Linked DNA regions of Homo sapiens: region 2 is linked to region 1. The links are contacts of gene promoters, found by promoter capture Hi-C in human tissues and cell types (Jung and others, 2019). All regions are on one chromosome and are shown on one strand. The core of a region is centred on a gene start or on the middle of the fragment in contact, and the rest is flanking DNA. Distances in the headings are between cores, read along the strand shown.

Region 1 (3,865 bases), core at 437-2,936:
CGCCCTTCTTGGCCGGGACGCACTCGGTGCCTTCCAGCTCCCCACCAGAACTGGTCCAGGGGGCGCGGAAACAGAGAGGCAACTGTGTCCGGCTTGTGGTTCCAGACGGAAACGCCTCCGGGCTCCCTGGCCCGGGGGACAAGGGTTCGAAACTTCAACAGTCGCGAGGGCAAGGACAGAACTACCAACTCCCGCTCGGATGCCCGGGACCTGCTCTTCCAAGCCCGCTCCGGTTTCTCCAAAGGACGCGCGGCACAGCCCATGCGCCCCCGGCACTCCACTCCACTCCTCTATGGTTTCCCCCAAACTCTTCCCGGGGAGCCCCACAAAGCACAGACGGCGCCCTGAAACTCGCCAGGCACTCGCCAGCCATCCCCACCTCCGCCTCTCGAACCCTCCTTGTCGCGTTCTTCCCGCCCCGCACCTTTCTCCTCGCGTTTCTGGGAAGTCAGAAGCAAACCACGAGAAAATGCCTTCGCAAGGAGCCTCCCTACACCCGCCCTGTCACTGAAACAAAAGCGTAGGGAGGAGGGAGGTGGGAGAGGAGGCGGGAGGAAGGTTTAGAAAGACGATGGGGACAGCAGTAGGAAGGAGCTGGGGAGGGGGGTCAAGGTGGCAAGCAGAGCTGGGGGCCCAGAGTCCGCTCCCGTGCCGCGCGGCGAGTCGCTTACATGCCCAGGTCGCTGTAGGTGTTGAAGAACTCCATCTGATTGCACGCCTGAATCCAGCCCACCACCCAGGTCTCGTGGCGGGGGATGGGGGGCATGACCACGCGGGCGGAGGCTTTGAAGTAGGGGGTCTTGTAGCGCAGGACGATGGGCGAGGTCTCCTCGATGCGCGTGGGGCACTGGTCGATGGTGGCGCACACATCGTACACCACGATGTTCTCGCGCCGGATCCGCGCCTTGCAGGTGATGCTTTGGATACAGCCCATCCTGCAGCCCGGTGCCGGCACGGCGCGGCGTGGGGCAGCGCGGGGGCCCGCGCGGGCAGCCGGGGGCGCCCGTCACGCCGGCATGGCGACGCGCCGCTCGCTCCCGGTCAGACTCAGCTCGCACCTAGGAGCGGGGAGCCGCCGGGCATCCTTGGGGAAGCCCCCTCCTCTTGCAGCCGCGCGGGGTCCCCGCTGCCCCGACGTCCGCCCACGCCCGCCCCCTCGCTCCGGCAGGGCGCGCGGAGGGTGCACTCCTAGGAGGCGGCGGGTGCCCTCGCCGGCTCCAGCGCCCGGGCGGAGGGCAGGGAGGGGAGCGGCGCTGCGAGGAATGGTGCCCACCCCGGGCCGGAGCCCCCCGCCCCTCGCCGGAGAGGAGGAGGCGGCAGCGGCGGCGGCATGGAGCCGGGGGAGGGCGGCGGTGGCAGCGCCCGGTCTGTCTGCCTCCGCGGCGGCAGCAGCAGCAGCCGCCGCCGCCGCCGCCGCTGCATGAACCTCTGCACCACGGCTGCCCCCCGCGTGCAGCGCACCCAGCGGCGGGCGAGCGGGCGGCCCAAGAGGCAGGCGGAGGCAGCAGCGGCGGCGGCGGCGACCGGAGCTCCCGCCGGCCCCGCCCCGTAGCCGGACCACACCGACACTCCTCGGCCCGGCTGCCTCGGCCCGGGGGGCGCCAGGAGGCTGTGGCCCGGGGTGGAGAGCCCCAACGGCTGGAGCAGCACAGGACGTGCTCCGCGGAGGAAACTGGCTGTACGCCATGAGTTTTGTCCCTATTCGGCTGCCGTCCGGGTGGGGGGGGGGTAATGTGTAAGGGTGGGGGTGTTTAAAGGGCCGCTAGCGCCGGGGTGGGGCCCCGCACGTGGGGCTGAGGCGGGGCGGGGCCCTGGTAGGTGGTGCCCTGGGGTGGGGGTGGGGGACTAGGGCGGGCCCAAGCGCCACCGGGTGGGTGAGGCCGAGCAGGGCGCGGCGCTGTCCAGAGTCCAGTGGGGAACCCGGTAGCCCAGTAGGGGCTGTAGAGTGAGTGTTTCGGGCAGCAGAAGGGTTAGGGGAACAGCTTTATCAGAGATTGGTCGTTATTCAGAATATAGCTTGTTGGATTAGATTTAGGCTTGAGCCCTTTTAGTATCCTACCTTCAGAAAGGGTGAAGGGCGGGCTCCAGCAGCGTTACTAAATGCAGTGTATTTGCCTCTTTGCCTGACTGGGTTTGTTCTGGAAGCTCTTCTTTCCACCACTGTGTGTAGTGGGGATACCGGAAGAATCCCTCCGTACTCCAGCACTAAGTCTCTCATATGCCAGAGTTTTGGCAGACATTGGGCATTGTGTACAGTATGACCACGGTCATGTGTCTGATACTGCAGTCTAATGTGCCAAACAGGAAGAATATTTAGCAGATGCTTTTACTAGGCATCTTCTTACATTTTTATTTTCAAAGCCAATAGCTTCTAAGTATTTCTTCTGCGATCATTGAACATTTGCTGGATCTGCTGCCCAAGTGTGAAATACTGACTAACAGGCCGCAGGAGGTGCTAGAGTTAGTCTTTAGCTAGGACAGGTGTGACGAGTAATTTAAAAATTGATTGAGATCTAAAAGCACTCTTCATCCTTGTTTTAACTGTTCTGACACCTTGGTTCACTTTATAGTTAACAAAAAAGCAGTTTTTCCCTTTGATGACTCGTCTCTCTCATTTTACCGTGTAGCCACAGACCTCAATCACTGGTCCTTTCATTCAGCAAAGGCTGACTGCCTGCCTGGCAGGAGCCAAACATAGTGCTAGGTACTAGGGATTCAAAGTTGAAAAAGAGCACATGGATCACTGGAGAAAATAAACCTGTTAACAAGTTATTATAGTAAACTGTGACACCTGCTTTAGTGGGGTTGTGTATCCAGTGCCGTGGAAGGCCAGACATGTAAATCTCTGGCCACATGTAAATCCCTCAGTGGTCAGAGAGCCACTCAGTGGCTCTCTGGCCACTGAGAGATTTACGTGTGACTTTGCTCAAGTAGTGACATTTAAATTGAATACTGACAGACTGTAGAGTCTCACTGAAAAGAGAAAGGTGAATGAGTAGTACAGGACCAGCATTTGGCAAATGCAAAATGCATAGAGATATGAAAGAACTCATCCTGTACTGAGGGGGAGAAACAACTCACAGTCAAGGCATTTCTCAAGGTGTTATGTGTCGACCATGGGCATCAGAATCACTGTCCAAGAATCAATTGGTTGTTGATAGACCATATCTTTTTTCTTTTTAAAATTAAGACTACAGACTTTATTTTGATTTTACTAGTTTTTCCACTAATGTCTTTTTTTCTCTAGAATCTAATCCAAGATATGATGTTGCATTTAGTCATTACATCTCCTTATTCTTCTCAATCTGTGACAGCTTCTCAGTCTTTCTCTGTTTTTCATGACCTTGACATTTTTAAAGAGGACTGGTCAGATATTCTGTAGAATTGTTCCTCATTTGCATTTATCTGATGTTTCCTCATGATTAGACCAGGGTTTTGGATTTGGGGGATGAATACCATGAAGATGAAGTGCCTTCTCATTGCATTATGTCAGGGGTACATGATAGCAATATGACTTTTTACTGGTGTTATTAACCTTGATCACTGGGTTTGGTGAATAATTTTTTTAACTTTTAGGTTCAGAGGTACAGGTGCAGGTTTGTTATATAGGTAAATTGCATGTCATAGGGGTTTGTTGGACAGATTATTTTATCACCCTGGTAATGAGGATAGTACCCAATAGGTATTTTTTTTTTATCCTCTGCCTCCTCCTACCCTTCACCCTCTAGTAGGGCCCAGTGTCTTCTCTTGATAGGACCTTATCTTAAACTTCAGTGGAAGCCAATGAAGGCAAGCCATGCATTTTGAGAAAAATTACTCTGCATCCATATAGAGAATAGAGGAGGCAGCGTTTCAGAATATTGTG
Region 2 (3,865 bases), core at 529-3,028, 150 kb after region 1:
ACCTATGGCTAGCCAGTTTTCCCAGCACCATTTATTAAATACAGAATCCTTTCCCCATTTCTTGTTTTAGTCAGGATTGTCAAATATCAGATAGCTGTAGATATGTGGCATTATTTCTGCTTGGTCTGTTCTGTTCCGTTGGTCGATATCGCTGTTTTGGTACCAGTACCATGATGTTTTGGTTACTGTAGCCTTGTAGTATAGTTTAAAGTCAGGTAGCATGATACCTCCAGCTTTGTTCTTTTGGCTTAGGATTGACTTGGCAATGCGGGCTCTTTTCTGTTCCATATGAACTTTAAAGTAGTTTTTCCAATTCTGTGAAGAAAGTCATTGGTAACTTGATGGGGATGGCATTGAATCTATAAATTACCTTGGGCAGTATGGCCATTTTCATGATATTGATTCTTCCTACCCATGAGCATTCCATTTGTTTGTATCCTCTTTTATTTCATTGAGCAGTGGTTTGTAGTTCTTGAAGAGGTCCTTCACATCCCTTGTAAGTTGGATTCGTAAGTATTTGATTCTCTTTGAAGCAATTGTGAATGGGAGTTCACTCATGATTTAGCTCTCTGTTTGTCTGTTATTGGTGTATAAGAATGCTTGTGATTTTTGCACATTGATTTTGTATCATGAGACTTTGCTGAAGTTGCCTATCAGCTTAAGGAGATTTTGGGCTGAGACGATGGGGTTTTCTAGATATACAATCATGTCATCTACAAACAGGGACAATTTGACTTCCTCTTTTCCTAATCGAATACCATTTATTTCCTTCTCCTGCCTGATTGCCCTGGCCAGAACTTCTAACATTATGTTGAATAGGAGTGGTGAGAGAGGGCATCCCTGTCTTGTGCCAGTTTTCAAAGGGAATGCTTCCAGTTTTTGCCTATTCAGTATGATATTGGCTGTGGGTTTGTCATAGATAGCTCTTATTATTTTGAGATATGTCCCATCAATACCTAATTTATTGAGAGTTTTTAGCATGAAGCGTTGTTGAATTTTGTCAAAGGCCTTTTCCGCATCTGTTGAGATAATCATGTGGTTTTTGTCGTTGGTTCTGCTTATATGTTGGATTACAGTTGTTGATTTGCGTATGTTGAACCAGCCTTGCATCCCAGGGATGAAGCCCACTTGATCATGGTGGATAAGCTTTTTGATGTGCTGGTGGATTCAGTTTGCCAGTATTTTATTGAGGATTTTGCATCGATGTTCGCCAGGGATATTGGTCTAAAATTCTGTTTTTTTGTTGTGTCTCTGCCAGGCTTTGGTATCAGGATGATGCTGGCCTCATAAAATGAGTTAGGGAGGACTCCCTCTTTTTCTGTTGATTGGAATAGTTTCAGAAGGAATGGTACCATCTCCTCCTTGTACCTCTGGTAGAATTCGGCTGTGAATCTGTCTGGTCCTGGACTTTTTTTGGTTGGTAAGCTATTAATTATTGCCTCAATTTCAGAGCCTGTTATTGGTCTATTCAGAGATTCAACTTCTTCCTGGTTTAGTCTTGGGAGGGTGTATGTGTCGAGAAATTTATCCATTTCTTCTAGATTTTCTAGTTTATTTGCATAAGGGTGTTTATAGTATTCTCTGATGGTAGTTTGTATTTCTGTGGGATTGGTGGTGATATCCCCTTTATCATTTTTTATTGTGTCTATTTGATTCTTCTCTCTTTTCTTCTTTATTAGTCTTGCTAGCGGTCTATCAATTTTGTTGATCGTTTCAAAAAACCAGCTCCTGGATTCATTGATTTTTTGTAGGGTTTTTTGTATCTCTATTTCCTTCAGTTCTGCTCTGATCTTGGTTATTTGTTGCCTTCTGCTAGCTTTTGAATGTGTTTGCTCTTGCTTCTCTAGTTCTTCTAATTGTGATGTTCGGGTATTAATTTTAGATCTTTTCTGCTTTCTCTTGTGGGCATTTAGTGCTATAAATTTCCCTCTACACACTGCTTTGAATGTGTCCTAGAGATTCTGGTATGTTGTGTCTTTGTTCTCATTGGTTTCAAAGAACATCTTTATTTCTGCGTTCTTTTCATTATGTACCCAGTAGTCATTCAGGAGCAGGTTGTTCAGTTTCCATGTAGTTGAGCGGTTTTGAGTGAGTTTCTTAATCCTGAGTTCTAGTTTGATTGCACTGTGGTCTGAGAGACAGTTTGTTATAATTTCTGTTCTTTTACATTTGCTGAGGAGTGCTTTACTTCCAACTATGTGGTCAATTTTGGAATAGGTGTGGTGTGGTGCTGAAAAGAATGTATATTCTGTTGATTTGGGGTGGAGAGTTCTGTAGATGTCTATTAGGTCCGCTTGGTGCAGAGCTGAGTTCAATTCCTGGATATCCTTGTAAACTTTCTGTCTCGTTAATCTGTCTAATGTTGACAGTGCGGTGTTAAAGTCTCCCGTGATTATTGTGTGGGAGTCTAAGCCTCTTTGTAGGTGTCTAAGGACTTGCTTTATGAATCCGGGTGCTCCTGTATTGGGTGCATATATATTTAGGATAGTTAGCTCTTCTTGTTGAATTGATCCCTTTACCATTATGTAATGGCCTTCTTTGTCTCTTTTGATCTTTGTTGGTTTAAAGTCTGTTTTATCAGAGACTAGGATTGCAACCCCTGCCTTTTTTTGTTTTCCATTTGCTTGGTAGATCTTCCTCCATCCCTTTATTTTGAGCCTATGTGTGTCTCTGCATGTGAGAAGGGTTTCCTGAATACAGCACACTGATGGGTTTTGACTCTTAATCCAATTTGCCAGTCTGTGTCTTTTAACTGGAGCATTTAGCCCATCAACATTTAAGGTTAATATTGTTATGTGTGAATTTGATCCAGTCATGATGATGTTAGCTGGTTATTTTGCTTGTTAGTTGATGCAGTTTCTTCCTAGCCTCGATGGTCTTTACAATTTGGCATGTTTTTGCAGTGGCTGGTACCAGTTGTTCCTTCCCATGTTTAGTGCTTCCTTCAGGAGCTCCTGTAGGGCAGGCCTGGTGGTGACAAAAATCTCTCGCATTTGCTTATCTGTAAAGTATTTTATTTCTCCTTCACTTATGAAGCTTAGTTTGGCTGGATATGAAATTGTGGGTTGAAAATTATTTTCTTTAAGAATGTTGAATATTGGCCCCCACTCTCTTCTGGCTTATAGAGTTTCTGCCAAGAGATCAGCTGTTGGTCTAATGGGCTTCCCTCTGTGTGTAACCTGACCTTTCTCTCTGGCTGCCCTTAACATGTTTTCCTTCATTTCAACTTTGGTGAATCTGACAATTATGTGTCTTGGAGTTGCTCTTCTCGAAGAGTATCTTTGTGGTGTTCTCTGTATTTCCTGAATCTGAATGTTGGCCTGCCTTGCTAGATTGGGGAAGTTCTCCTGGATAATATCCTGCAGATTTTTTTCCAACTTGGTTCCATTCTCCCCATCACTTTCAGGTACACCAGTCAGACATAGATTTGGTGTTTTTACCTTGTCCCATATTTCTTGGAGGCTTTGTTCGTTTCTTTTTATTCTTTTTTCTCTAAACTTCTCTTCTTGCTTCATTTCATTCATTTGATCTTCCGTCACTGATACCCTTTCTTCCAGCTGATGGAATCAGCTACTGAGGCTTGTTCATTCATCATGTAGTTCTCGTGCCATGGTTTTCAGCTCCATCAGGTCCTTTAAGGACTTCTGTGCATTGGTTATTCTAGTTAGCCATTTGTCTAATCTTTTTTCAAGGTTTTTAACTTCTTTGCCATTGTTCAATCTTCCTCCTTTAGCTTGGAGTAGTTTGATCATCTGAAGCCTTCCTCTCTCAGCTCGTCAAAATCATTCTCCATCTAGCTTTGTTTCATTGCTGGTGAGGAGCTGCATTCCTTTGGAGGAGGAGAGGTGCTCTGATTTTTAGAATT

What was found. The method cuts DNA at HindIII sites, captures the fragments that hold promoters and counts their contacts. A contact is called where the count stands out against the background at its distance.
Region 2: a contact is called between a fragment that was not itself captured here and the fragment with the promoter of FAM78B in region 1, in 1 of the 25 tissues and cell types used here (hippocampus).

What each region holds. Positions count from the first base shown.
Region 1 is chr1:166,165,315-166,169,179 of GRCh38, forward strand. It overlaps FAM78B (family with sequence similarity 78 member B), which reads right to left and starts at 1,687. Exons shown (of 2, transcript NM_001017961.5): 1 at 672-1,687. The coding sequence starts at 934. LOC112268276 (a long non-coding RNA gene) reads left to right here and starts at 563. Exons shown (of 3, transcript XR_002958633.2): 1 at 563-740. RefSeq lists enhancers at 554-1,456, 628-797, 898-947 and silencers at 1,338-1,397, 1,438-1,927. The HindIII fragment of the contact is 7,560 bases long and covers 1-3,865 here.
Region 2 is chr1:166,312,110-166,315,974 of GRCh38, forward strand. The region is part of intron 1 of LOC112268276 (a long non-coding RNA gene); the gene reads left to right. Among named protein-coding and RNA genes, the nearest start is that of FAM78B, 150 kb to the left of the region's middle. The HindIII fragment of the contact is 4,504 bases long and covers 1-3,865 here.